3 separate regions of the Homo sapiens genome follow, and all the other regions are linked to region 2. Evidence: promoter capture Hi-C in 16 types of primary human blood cells and fetal thymus (Javierre and others, 2016). All regions are on one chromosome and are shown on one strand. Each heading gives the region's core, a stretch centred on a gene start or on the middle of the fragment in contact. The rest is flanking DNA. Distances are from core to core; before and after follow the strand shown. Region 1 holds the start of TTLL6 (tubulin tyrosine ligase like 6). Region 2 overlaps COPZ2 (coat protein complex I subunit zeta 2). Region 3 holds the start of HOXB-AS2 (HOXB cluster antisense RNA 2).

Evidence for each region. The method cuts DNA at HindIII sites, captures the fragments that hold promoters and counts their contacts. A CHiCAGO score of 5 or more calls a contact.
Region 1: a contact is called between the fragment with the promoter of TTLL6 here and a fragment that was not itself captured in region 2, in 1 of 17 cell types (neutrophils). The highest score is 5.2, in neutrophils.
Region 3: a contact is called between the fragment with the promoter of HOXB-AS2 here and a fragment that was not itself captured in region 2, in 1 of 17 cell types (naive CD4 T cells). The highest score is 5.8, in naive CD4 T cells.

The regions. Positions count from the first base shown.
Region 1 is chr17:48,815,497-48,819,941 of GRCh38, reverse strand. TTLL6 (tubulin tyrosine ligase like 6) reads left to right here and starts at 2,713. Exons shown (of 16, transcript NM_001130918.3): 1 at 2,713-2,972. The coding sequence starts at 2,870. LOC105371813 (a long non-coding RNA gene) reads right to left here. Exons shown (of 4, transcript XR_001752926.1): 3 at 3,950-4,103; 4 at 2,984-3,513. RefSeq lists silencers at 2,518-2,867, 2,958-3,007. The HindIII fragment of the contact is 3,258 bases long and covers 1,118-4,375 here.
Region 2 is chr17:48,028,330-48,032,670 of GRCh38, reverse strand. COPZ2 (coat protein complex I subunit zeta 2) reads left to right here. Exons shown (of 9, transcript NM_016429.4): 6 at 438-515; 7 at 3,495-3,546; 8 at 4,161-4,199. Among named protein-coding and RNA genes, the nearest start is that of MIR10226, 2.4 kb to the left of the region's middle. The HindIII fragment of the contact is 237 bases long and covers 1,913-2,149 here.
Region 3 is chr17:48,554,510-48,559,212 of GRCh38, reverse strand. It overlaps HOXB-AS2 (HOXB cluster antisense RNA 2), which reads right to left and starts at 3,056. Exons shown (of 2, transcript NR_046610.1): 1 at 1,855-3,056. It overlaps HOXB3 (homeobox B3), which reads left to right. Exons shown (of 5, transcript NM_001384749.1): 3 at 3,595-3,682. The HindIII fragment of the contact is 1,381 bases long and covers 1,796-3,176 here.

The DNA of each region.
Region 1 (4,445 bases), core at 1,464-3,963, 790 kb before region 2:
TCTCATGCATTGCAGACTTAAAGCAAAAAAAATCTGGGGTATGCAAAATTTTATCTAAGCATCCTTGCCTCATTCCCACTCCTTACATCATTCCTGGTACACATATCAAGACTTTATTTTGGCTGGGCACGGTGGCTAACACCTGTGATCCCAACATTTTGAGAGGCAACAAAACAAGATCCCGTCTCTACAAAATTGTTTTTTTAAAAAATTAGTCAGGCATGGTGGTAGGAGCCTGTAATCCTAGCTACTCAGGAGCGTTGCTTGAGCCCAGGAGTTTGAGGCTTCAATGAGTCATGACCGTGCCACTGTACTCCAGCCTGGACGACAGAGCAAGACTCCATCTCGAAAAAAACAAAATAAAATTATTTTGGCCGGGTGCAGTGGATCACGCCTGTAATCCCACCACTTTGGGATGCCGAGGTGGGCGGATCACGTGGTCAGGAGTTTGAGACCAGCCTGGCCAACATGGTGAAACCCGTCTCTACTAAAAATACAAAAATTAGCCGGGCATGGTGGCGGGTGTCTGTAATTCCAGCTACTTGGGAGGCTGAGGCAGGAGAATTGCTTGAACCCAGGAGGCAGAGATTGCAGTGAGCTGAGATCGCGCCACTGCACTCCAGCCTGGGCGACAGAGCAAGACTCCGTCTGAAAAAAAAAATATATTTTGACTGGCACAGGAAGAAAGGGCTTCTAGGAGGGACCTTGGTTCAGGGAGCAGAAGCAGGATCTCTGTTTGTTTCATTAACTACTTAAAGGAAGAACTCCAAACTGAGAAAAAACGCTGTGTGTGAAGTGCAGAGCAAACAACCTTACGGGGATTTTACTGTTGTTTTACTATTTATCTATTTAGTCAGGTGGGTGCCTTAGGAACAAAACAGCAGTGAAAACAACAGGGTTGGACCTGGATTTTTCCACACACTCTTGCCTCTGACAGCTTCTAGGACATGGTCCAAATTTTTTGACAATTAGGACCCTCCATCATTCTGCTTCAGTTTTTCATGCCCAGGCCGAGTAAGTCCCTCAGTGTTTACCTTGTGGATTTGTCTGTTTAGGGTTTGCCAGGCACAAATCACTGATATTCTCTGCTTTCCTGGCTGTCACTCGGGTTGAAGCTTGCTTTGCTCTACAGTGAGGGCAGCTCCACTGTTCACCGTGTTCACCCTGTGTTTGCTCCTGACATCAGCCCTGAAAGGACAGTAGTGCCAGGCTCTGGCCTATAAGCTCCCGTTGCAACATCTCATAAATAACCAGTTGTCAGGGATTTTAGTGGAAACTCTCTGAAAGCCGTAAATCTTTGCTGCTCTCTCCTGTATCCTCTCCCTCATTTCCATCACAATATCACTCCTGAGGGACCGGAGACCAAACAGGAGCTAGGCAGAGCAGATTGGTAGGACGCTGGGGAAAGACAACAGTGGGATGGGGGAGGGGACCAGGCTGGGACAGTTGGTCTTAGGGAAGCATCTGCTGGGTGACCAGTTAATGATGGTCACTTGGCCCCTTAGGGCCTGTCGGGGAGGGGCACCACAGCACGGGGCCACCTGCGGGGGGAAAAGGGAAGAGTGCTGACTGGATGGCAGAGAGGTTTCTGAAAGAGCAGCAGATGGGCCACTGGTTCCACTTTGGGCCTTCTGTTCACTCCGGGGTGACTGTAAGCACCACGTAGTAGGCTTCCAGGGTCGGCTTGAGGCTAAGCTACACCCTTGCCTCTGGTGTTCTGCCTGTGCACATCAGCAGGTGAAGGGGATCTGGGTTGGGAGGAACTTAGGTTACCAACTCAGGCCCAAATGAACAATGTTTATTTATTTATTTGAGACAGAGTTTCCCTCTGTTGCCCAGGCTGGAGTGCAGTGGCGCGATCTCAGCTTAATGCAACCTCTGCCTCCTGTGTTCAAGCGATCCTCCCGCCTCAGCCTCCCGATAGCTGGGACCACAGGTACGCGCACCGCGCTCGGTTAATTTTTGTATTTTTAGTAGAGAGGAGGTTTCGCCATGTTGTCCAGCTGGTGTTGAACTTCTGAGCTCAAGCGATCCACCCACCTAGGCCTCCCAAAGTGCTGGGATTACAGGCGTGAGCCACCGCGCCCGACCATCTTCAATGATTTGAATCCAGTCACTACTACAGATTCTCCACCTGAGACCAAATGGTTGCTCTGAGAAGCCCAGACCCCTAACCCCTTAAGTCTCACTGACTCTTCAGTCGGTCTAGGCGGCCCTCTCTTACTGATCAGTTCACTGGAGGCCATGACCCCCACACTCTGGAGGTGAGGTCAGGGTTCAATACGCCTGAGCGGTCATCACAGGTTTGCAACACCCATTTTCCTGTTGAAGAAGCTAAGCCTCACAGAGGTAACGTGGCCTGCCCAAGGTGACACAGGCACTAATATGCCTGAGATGCTGATTTAAGTCTCCAACCAGTGTTTTCCCACAGTGCCTCCTGCTTCAGGTTTGCCCTCTCCCGAAGGCCTAAATTCAAGGTGCCCCCCTCCCTCACCGCAGCCCCGCGCAGCTGGACCTCTGGAGCCAGACGTTCTGGCCGCGCCCGCGCACGGCGCCCGACGGCACCGGCGCGGATGGGCTGGGACTGCGGCTTGGCTCGCTGGGCAAGGGTAGGGCTGCGGGAGCGAGCGGCGGTCCAGCCCCTGGCGCCCGGGTGCGCGGTGCGCGCGTCCTCCGCGTCTCCCGGGACAACCGTGGGCGCGCCCCTCCCCTAGCGCCTGGGCGGTTAATTGGATTCGGGAGGGAGGGGGCATGGCAGCTACTGCAGGGGCCAATCGAAGGCCTAGAAGGCCCCGTATGCAAATATGAGGGCCGGGCGGACCCAAAGTTAGGGCGAGCGCGGGTTGGGGTTGGGGCTGTCTGGCAGCCAATGGGAGCGTTACTCCTTCATCCTTCGAGGAGGGGGCCGGCAGGTGTGGTTGCAAGCTGGACTAGCAGCCCAGCGGGGCGAGACGGGGGAGTAGGAATTGCGGGTAAGAGCGCCCCAAAGCCCGGTGCTGGCTCCAGACCGCAGCCTCCTGGTGCCTGTCCCCTGAAAACCTGGCTAGACACGTCTCCTTAAACCCACACGGGACCCAGGTCCCCAGGGTAGCCCGCTGCCCTCCCTGGTGGCGTTCCATGGCGCCAGGCACTCACCCTCACGGTCCCTCGGCTCCGGGACTCCCCCCTTCTCAGTCCCTCTTATTAACGTTCATTTCCCGCCCTCCCCCGATTTCCTAAACCACAGTCCACCAAGGAGCTGTCGCTTAGACACCAGCGATCCCTGGGACTCACACAACTCTCTTCATCCCCTTCATCCCCATCATTGGGTCATTTTCTTCATCACTGTTCTTCCTTTGTCTGGAGAAACCTTCCAGCAAGACACTTCCCATTTTTCATGGCCGGCATAGTCCTCTGCTGATGCCCCTACCGCCTTCCAGCCTGGTGTTCTTTCATTTCCAGTTGTTATTTCTCACCCCTCCTGAAAAAATACTCTTCTGGCTTTGCAGAAAGTTCTCCTTTGGGATTTGAACTCTAGGAAAAATATCACATTGGGGGATGAAGTGGGAAGGGAGCTAACGTTTTGAAAGCACCAGTATGTGCGAGGCACTCCAAAAAAATTTAATATTTATGCCAATCTTATTATTATATTTTCTTTTTTGTTTGTTTTAAGAGATGGAGGTGGGGGTGGGGGGGCTCACTTTTTTGCCCAGGCTGGTCTCGAACTCCTGAGCTCAAGTGATCCTCCCACTTGGGCTTCCCAAAGTGCTGGAATTACAGGCATGAGTCACCACGCCTGGTTTATATTTTCATTTTACAATATAGCCTTTATTTTGAACCAAGCACTGCTTTAAGGGTATTAGAAATATTAACTCATTTAATCTTTAAAACAGCTCCATAAAATGAATATTATTATCATCCCCATTTTACTTATACAGAAGCTGAGGTACAGAGAGGCTAAGTTACTCACCCATGGTCACACATTCTAGAAACTAGTAGAGCTGGGATTTGGATCCAGATCCATCTGTCTTTGTTAGCAATGCCCTGAATATTGTGGAGAAAATGACTAGGCATGAGCCTGATCTGAATATTGCATCTTCCAATCTTGCAGAATTTCTCAGTTTCTAGAAGAATAAAAGATGGCATCTAAGTCAGCAAGATTCTTATTGTTCCCACTACAGGTGACTTGTCATTCTCAACACTTCTTATTGGCAAAGCCCTTGAGCAATTGGGTGCCCCATCCCTCCCTTGTTAGTTCACATTTTGCTTAGGACCCTTTCAGGCCCCGGGCTGAAATTCAAAGTGTGACTAAAACGAAAAGTCAAAAGACCACAAAAAACATCTTATTTTATCCTGTCTGAATCAAAGCTCAAAGCACTTTTCTAGATGTGAAGCTTTTATCCTCCTAGTGGTCCTGTAATTATAGAGAAGATAGGGAGTGGGAGAGGAAATAATTGCTTGGATTT
Region 2 (4,341 bases), core at 782-3,281:
TGCCCTCCGAGGCCCCATCCCCCTGGCCCTGATATGTCACAGGACCCTTCCTCCCTGTTTTTCTCCTGAAGTCCCCACAAGACTAAGATAATCCAAAAAGAAAAGTTCACAGTCGACACAATGAACGAAAGTAGGGCTGTGCTATAGCATCTAACCTAGTTGTGAAACGCATCTGGGGTCCTGTGGTGGGTGCCAGGGTGTCAAGGCCCAAAGTATGGGAGGTTGGACAAGGTAGGGTGTAAGGAAGCAGAACTGCCCTTTGCTCAGAAATGCCTTGCATGGGCTCTGTGCTCACTGCCCTTCACATTCTCCTTCCCAGTCCTTGTTTGGTGAGGGGTGAATGAGGCAGTCTTTGGAGAGTGGGGTCAGCCTCACCTAGGCAGGGACTCAGTTCCTCCCAGCCACAGGGAGGCTCAGGAGCTTGTGTCCACCTTCAGGAAGAACGTGGAGAAGCGCTGGTTGCTGGAGAACATGGACGGAGCCTTCTTGGTGCTGGACGAGATTGTGGATGGCGGGTGAGGAGGGGACAGTCAGGGACACTCACAGCAGGAGTGCCTTTGATAATCATCAGCCCCAGATGGCACCCAGCATGGCTAGAACTCTGACCAACTTCTCACTCCCTTCCCCCAGCATATTCCCAGGGATCCCATTCCCCTAGCCCTTCCCCTTACTAGCGCCCCACTCATGAAGATAGAAGTTGATTTCAATGTTAGCCAAAGTCAAGCCAAACAAGAGACTAACCTGATGTCAAACTATGGGAGACTGTTGAATAGGCAGGGTTTGGGGAAAATCCAGTTTGGTCTCCAATGCCCAGGGGAAGCACTGGCACAGATGCTGGCCCTCTCTGGAAGGACTTCAGACAGTCCCACCAGCCCCACATGTCCTGCTCTTAGGGCTCAATTCCAACACAAGCTAGATGCGTGACCTGGGTCAATTACTGACCCTCCCCGAGGCTTACTTTCTCCATCTTTAGGATGGAGGTAATAAGGGATTGTGGGGATTAAATACATGTGTGAGAAGATACATGTGAAGCTTGTGGTTCTCATTCAATAGATGTTGCCTCCTATTGGTATGCTAGTATATTCTTAGGAAGCTAGGAGCTCTTTTGAGAAAAGTTGGCTTGTGAATTTCCATCAGGGGATCAATATTCAGAGAGAAAAAGAAGTTCTGGCTCTGGGGCAAAGGATAATAAAAATTTCTTTTTTTTTTTTTTTTGAGACAGAGTCTCGCTCTGTCACCCAGGCTGGTGTGCAGTAAGTGGCGTGATCTCGGCTCACTGCAAGCTCCACCTCCCGGGTTCACACCATTCTCCTGCTTCAGCCTCCTGAGTAGCTGGGACTACAGGCACCCACCACCACACCAAGCTAATTTTTTGTATTTTTAGTAGAGACGGGGTTTCACCATGTTAGCCAGGATGGTCTCGATCTCCTGACCTCGTGATCCGCCCACCTCAGCCTCCCAAAGTGCTGGGATTACAGGTGTGAGCCACCATCCCCGGCCAATAGAAATTTCTTGAGCTCCTTAAAAACATACATCCCTCTATCATTACATCATTTTATACATTAGGAAACAGGCTCAAAGTTTCAAGTGACACGCCGGAGGTCTCTCACACAGCTAGGGAGTGGCAGGGCCAAGATCTAAAACCATGTGAATAGTTCCAGAGGCCATGCTGTTTCTATGGCACTGTACTGGACTGCCTGGGGCACTAAGGAATGCCTCCTGCAGATTTCTGGGACCCAAAAGGGAGTGGGGTAACGCCAGGTTTTGGGGAGCCAGAAGCATATACAATTTGGTGAACCCTCTTGAAGGAAAACTTTACACAAACACACACAAAACTATAAATGCAAAACAAGATGCAGGGCTCTGGATGGCTGTGCAAAGGAGGATGCCTGAGGTGTAAGCTTCACAAGCTTCCCGTCTCTGCCTCTGAGGAACTCAGTTTCCTGCCAAGAAAAACTGGGGAAGCGCCAGTCGGGAGGCAACGCCTAAACTGGAGCCTTGGCCTGGGATGCTCTTTCTTTATGGATTACAGGACCCCTGGTTAGGGAGCTTGGGACAGGGGGTGCTCAGCCCAAGGATGGGGACTGGAAGAGGCTCCCAAGAAATGTTTGTCATTTCCAGTGATTTAGTAACAAAGAGAAACAAAGCTTCTGCCTTGGAGGAGTCTCAGTGGGTAAGGAGGTACACTCAGATCCTGTCATCTTTGTCCTGCCGCAGTGACAGGCCCTCACGCCCATGTACCCTGTACATAACCCCAAGGCCTCACGAAGGAGCGCCTGCTCTCTGAGAAAAGCTACAATATTTGGGTCTATCAAAAGGGAATTTTTTTGTTTGTTTCTTTGTGTGTGTGTGTGTGTGTGTGTGTGTGTGTGTGTGTGTGTTTTGAGATGGAGTCTCACTCTGTCGCCCAGGCTGGAGTGCAGTGGCGTGATCTTGGCTCACTGCAACCTCTGCCTCCTGGGTTCAAGCAATTCTCCTGCCTCAGCCTCCCGAGTAGCTGGGATTATAGGCGTGCGCCACCATTACCGGCTAATTTTTTTTGTATTTTCAGTAAAGACGGGGTTTCACCATATTGGCCAGGCTGGTCTCGAACTCTTCACCTTGTGATCCTCCCACCTTAGCCTCCCAAAGTGCTAGGATTGCAGGCGTGAGCCACTGTGCCTGGCCTAAAAGGGAAGATTTAAAAAAAAAATTTTTTTTTTTTAGACAGAGTCTCACTGTGATGCCCAGGCTGGAGTGCAGTGGCGCAATCTTGGCTCACTGCAACCTCTGCCTCCCGGGTTGAAGCGATTCTCCTGCCTCACCCTCCCAATTAGCTGGAATTACAATGTGTGCCACCATGCCTGGCTGATTTTTGTACTTTTACTAGAGACAGGGTTTCGCCATGTTGGCCAGGCTGGTCTGGAACTCCTGACCTCAGGTGATCCACCCGCCTCGGCCTCCCAAAGTGCTGGGATTACAGGCATGAGCCACCGTGCCCAGCCTTAAAAAAAAAAAAAAAGGGAGGAAGTAGGGGAGAAGGTAGATGCTGATTTTTGGAGTTTCATTTCTTTTATGCAGGGCATGACCCCATGCCATAAAATAACAGTGCAACAAGATAAGAACCCCCAGGGCCTCTCTTCCTAACTCTTTTCACAGGGAATCCAATCCTATACCCAGAAAGTGAAGTGAACTTTCAAGAGCTCTGAGTTTTGAGAGTCCCTGCTTTTGACAACCTGATCATCCTAGACCAGACTGTTCTTATCCAGTTTCAAAGATTTTGCCCAGGGATGACAAAGCATGTGGACCACTGGGTTGAAGCATCAAAGAATCAGAGCTGAGGGCTCTCCATGCTGAGGGAGAGTTCTGACTTGAGGGCTATCAGTGGGAAGGGACCTGGAAGGTGGAGATGTTGCAGGATGCCTTCGGAGAGGGAAGAGGCTTGGCAAGGAGAAGGGGCGGAGGGGAGGATTGTGCCACTGATTTGCCTCCTGGTTTTTCCTCTCATCTTGTAGTGTGATTCTGGAGAGTGACCCCCAGCAAGTGATCCAGAAGGTGAATTTTAGGGTAAGAGTCTTCCTGGACACCTCCTCTTTTAGGCTGCCCTTCCTGTCCTCCCTGGGAATAGGGCTGCTAGGGCCTAGATGGTAGAAGCCCAAGCTCCTCTAGCAGAAGCCAACCACTGGGCTGACACACTTGTTAGGGGTGAGATGAGCAGCAGTTTCTGGGTGGGATGCCAGTTAATGGAAGAAATCTTCCTGTCCTCTCCCCGGCTAGGAGCACAAGTACCTCACCTCTTTCCTGGTAGGAAGTATAGACTGGGGAAATAAATACATCTTCAAAGAGGCACTAGGTGGCTGCCTTGGCCTTGAGGTTGGGGGTCAGGGGTATGGATAGAACCTCCCTGCCTTGTTTGGCTTTCTCATGTCTGGATGAAACCTTTCTTCCCATCTTTCTTCCCATCTTCCCTCACCCTCCACGCACCATAGCACAATCCCAGAGGTCCTGGCTTCCAAATGACAGGCTGCAGGACTTCTATTAACCAGTGACACAGGTGCAGCTCTGAATCACCCTAACCACTGCACCACCTCACCCATACCCCCAAGCCCCTTTCCTTCACCTCCCTGACCCAGGACCCTCATGCTGGCCCTACCCCACCCCTTGACTCTGCTTCCTTACAGGCAGATGATGGCGGCTTGACTGAACAGAGTGTGGCCCAGGTAGGCCCCCCTGCATCTGCCTTGGCTAGAAATGGTCTAGAGAGATACGGGGAGCAGAGCATCCTAGAGCATCCTAGGGGGACCCAGTGAAGTTATCAAGTCTGAAAAATCAGGGGTGAGAAGGGAAGGGATGAGGCAGTGA
Region 3 (4,703 bases), core at 1,807-4,306, 530 kb before region 2:
GTAGCCCTTGATTGTTCCAGAGGGTTTAAAGTGCTCCCGTCGCCTGATACTGGGTACCCAGTGGGGTGGGGGAGAGAAGTGCCAGAGCGAGTGCTCTGGCTCTGAAGAAACGGAATGGAAGAGGAAAAGATGTCTGTGAAGAAGGGCATTTTCTCTAATCTTTACCCTTATTATTTTTTTACTTCATTAGTTTATGCTAGTGTCTCTGTCTCTTACTCAATTTTCCTCTTTTTCAATTTCTCTTTCTCCTCCTTTCTCTCTCTCTCTCTCTCACACACACACACACCCTACACACATGGGCACACACACACAGTTTTCCAGGTTTCCCTCCCAAATCCAAGAAGAAATTGTTCCCTCTTCTGTATCTCCAGTCTGTTCCGAAATCATGGCTTCACTCTCAGGGATGATAAGCCCTTCTCCTGCTTCTCTTTTCCCAGACCCCAAAGTCTTCCCTCAGCCTGCTCTGGCGTCCCCCACCCCAAGTTCCCTGCTCAAACTCCTCACTACCAGCCTTTATCCCCTGAAGTTTGAAAATCCCCTGGCTAGCAGCAACACCTCAGTCCAAACAGGGGCCCTTAGGGGTGCCTGTTCCACCCTCCGTCCTCCAGCCTCCCAGCCCTAATCAGAGGGCAGCCCGCCTGCTCGCCAGAGACCTCTGAGAATGGAAGAAAAAAGGCAAGACAGAAACTAAACTGGGATCTAATTGCCTCCCAAGTATTCCAAATGGGCTCTGTACTCCAGAATTAAGAAGCCCCCACTCCATCTCCTACCGCATTTGGGGGTATATGTCCTCTGAGATTTTCTCCAGGTTCATTTTCTTGCTTCTCGGTCCTCTTTTTCACTCCCACCCCACTATGCCCCACTGCCTTCTGTAGCCCGAGGGACCACAAAGAGTTGAGGAGGCTTGGGGAAGGGAGGGGTCTGCTGTTGTCTCTGGAACACTCCTCCACTCCCAGCTCAGCTCCAGGCCCGCTTCTCCTGCAGCCGGCCCGAGGCTGCCTGGGTGCCTTCTGGACTCTCGTGTTATTCCTAGAGGCAAAGCTGCGCAGTCCCAAAAGCGATCAGGTTCTCCTCTTCTCTCAGTTTTACAATGACCTTCTCTAACCCAATGATAGTAACAGCTAGGACAGCAGAGGTTTTGAGGTACATTCTTGGCTTTTTTTTTATTTGGGGGAGTGATAGAAAAAAAAACCCCAAAGGTACTGGTTTCTTTAAGCCTCTGGAAGCCTCCCTGGCCTGAGTCCCTGACCCACCAAGCTCAAAGTTACATGGGGTCTGACCCTGTAGGTCTCTAACCAGAGTGTAGAGATCTCAGGACAGACTTTTTGCAGCCACATGCTCAGGCACCCCTAACAGGTCTCTTTGGGGTTCCAGGCTGGCTTGAGCCCCAAGTCTAGGTCTGACTTGGATGTTTTATTTTCTTGATACTACTAATAAACACAGAAAAATACTAATAAACACAGAATAATAGCTAATAAACACAGAAAAATAGCTCCCACCCTCCATCCCCATGTCCCCCAACCCGTGCTTCCCCCCAGCTGTCAACTTTCTAGGTGGGAGGTGGGGTCCTCAGGACATTACATTCTGAGGCTCTGCAAGTGGCTTCTGTTGCTGGAGGGCAGGAAGGCCATAGGTACCCCCAGTTTATCAGGGCCCCTGGAAACCGGCTGCTCCAAATCACCTGGCCTGACTTAGCCTTGCCTGGAAGAAGTAGGGGCTGGAGGCCAGGGGCCACTCCCTATCTCATCCCAAAGTAGAGCCTGTGAGTGGGGAGAGAGAGGGAATGAGGGAAGCTTTGCCAGACACCTCCAACCTATGCTGGAGGGAACACAAAAGCTGGAAATCAACTCTCACCTTTGTTGTCCCCAGTCCCGTTCCCTCTTCTGGTGCATCCAGATGGGAGAAGGCAAAAGCCAAGTATTCTAACCAGGAAATCACAGGGTAGTGCCTTACATGAAGTTAAGAGGACCAGTTTTCCAAGCTGCCTTTAGAGAAAAGAGTCAGCTTTCTATTTCATCCCCTAGCTCCGAGTCAGCAGTTAGGCAGAGTTGCAAACACTCCTGCTTTGGGAAATGTCCTGGTGCTCTTTTTGTCTTTTCCTTCCTCCCGGAATGACTATTCCCCACCCCCTGTCCCAAATCTGCAGACACCTACATTTTTGGCTCCTGTCTTCCTCCTACAGGCCTCCTCCTTGCCTTTTCCTGCCCTGCTCAAACACACCCTAAGAAAACTTTAGCTTTTGTGGCCTTCCTCACTTGTGCCAAGAGTCATAAATCTTGCAGGGCAGAGAGAAACAAACAGGGTTGTTCTGAATAATAATAATAACCATCTTCCATCTCTTCTGCCAGTGCATTTAAAATTAAGCGACCCTGCTAGTTCTTCTCTTCTTAGAAGTACAAATGTCCTTATCACCTCTTAGCCCCTTCTGCCTATTCGGAGGTGAGAATCATAACAGAAACTTATCCATGAAGTTCTTTCAGCCCGTCTACTGCCAGCCAGTCTGGAGCTCAAACTAAAACACAGAGTCCTCCTTTTGTCACCCTTTTCTCAACCCTCCTCCCCCTGCAAGATGTTCAGAGTTTTTAAAATCATCACTCACCGCTTGTTGTCTGTTCTCAAAAAGAAAAAGGGGGAGGGGTGTTTTTTTTTTTTTTTTTTTTTTAAGTTCTGGTCTTTCCCTCTCCCTTGGTTAGAGACTGGGCCTGGAGACTGGAGGGAGATTTGGGAGGAATAGAGAGGGTGTAGTGGAGGGAAGAAGCCGGGGCTGGAGACTCAGAAGGAGGGAGCCAGAGTGTGAGGGTTGGAGACCCAGAACTACTTTCTAAAAAAGTCCTGGTGTTCCAATTGCGAATGAGTGCAGAGGGGCACCCGGCACCCTCACCCCCGGGCCAGGCCTGCCTTTGACTCAGCCTCCAAATACTACTTCTCATATTAGCATAATAGTTCACTAGTGGGGTATGGGGGGAGCTGTGAACTTCACCGCCCTTCCTTGCCTTTGCTCACCTCTTCCTCCCTGTCCCTCCAATCTAGATTTAAATTTTTACCTGTTCTTTAAGGAAAAAAAAAAAACCCTCCTTCTTTTCTTCTTACTCTTTTTTTGGGGAGGCGGGTATTTTAAAATTTCCCCCCTTCCCCATCACCACCATCACCTTCCCTCCTTATCAGGCATCTAAGCTTGCTAAAGGGGGAGAGGTGGGGGGGTGTGAGCTTGTGTGTGAGTGAGTGTGTGTGTGTGTCTGTGTGGTTTTTTTTCCCTGTGCAAAAGCAGAGGCCATTGTTACGGAGAGTAGGGCGTACCAGTCTTATAGGGCAACCACACTGTGGCGGCTTAGCCCTGCTGGAGCCCGGAGCTGGATTCTGGCGAGCTGAGCCGCCCGGCACCTTTCGGTCTTCTATTTTTTTTCCCGCTCCCCCACCCCCTCCCTCCTGCGCACCCCTGCTCCTAAGCCGAGTGAATTGAAGCGGACGCCGCGCGGCTCCTCTGGCCGGTCTGCCCCTCGGGCTCCCCAGCCGGGGTGGCTTTGCGGGGCGGGGGCGGGGGGGCGGGGGGCGACGCAGCTTTAAACAGTGGTCTTTTTTTCCTTTGCCTTCAAGGAGGGGAGATTTGTCGCCTGCCGCTCGCTCTGGGGCTCGATGTGAATATATATTATGTCTGCCTGTTCTCCCCTCGTCGGTGGCTAAGGTAAGCTGGACTGAAATAGGCTATCAGTTTGTGAATGGCGGAGAGTATGTCTCAATGATTTATGGCCCATATGACTCCAATCTCGGTTCAAGAAGAGTTCACAAGCTTTAAGCTTCCTTCCACGCAGCGACTCTCTCTCTCCCTCCCTCCCTCCCTCCCTCCCTCCCTCTCTCTCTCTCTCTCTCTCTCTCTCTCCCTCTCTCTCTCCCCTCTCTCTTCCTGCTTCTCTCCTCTTTTCTCCTCTCTCTCTTTTCTTTCAGCAGCCAGATCCAGGGCTGAATTTTCTCCGCGGCTGCTAAGAAAGTCTCAACCTTTCTCTGTCTTCCTTTCTTGTTATTTTTCTTTCTCCCATTAATTTTTTTAAGTCCTGGAAGATGGCCTATCCCCTCTCTCGGGGCTTCCCCAGCTATTGTTACTCTCCTGGCTCTCCCTGGGGTGTGCTTGGCAAGGTGGGGTTCTTGCGGGGGGCTCATCTCCCTTCTCCAGCGAGACCCTGGGGGGAAGCCGGCAGCCACCGTCTCCCTCCCTCCCTCCCGAGGAGCCATATGGAACCTGAATTTTTCCAACATGGAGGCAAGGGAAATAGATCTGTTTGGCTTGGTAGAGTTGTTCCCCACCCCCTCTTGTTCTGGATCCCAGATCTTGGGTCCCCTTAGCACCTTTCTCTCTTCCCACTGTCCCGTCCGCCAGGCCTCGGCGCCCTCCAACCCGGAGCCCTGCTGAGCAAAGTCCCGAAGCGGAGTTTCTAAGGCGCCTTTTAATTCGGTTACCTCCAGCTCCCAAAACTTGCTGCCGCCCGCGGGGCTCGGCCCTCGGCCGGCTGGTGTGCTGGGAACCTGCCTCCGATAACCGTTTTGGTGTCCTGATCGCTTGCTCTTCTTCGCCTCCTTGGGCCATCGTAGGTGGCTGGTAGCTTGTCGCCAGTCGCCGCGGCAGCAGCGACCGGCTGAGGCAGCCTGGCAGCAGCAGCCAGGGACTACCCGGGTGCACAAACCTTCCCAGCCCTGTCTGCACCACCGGC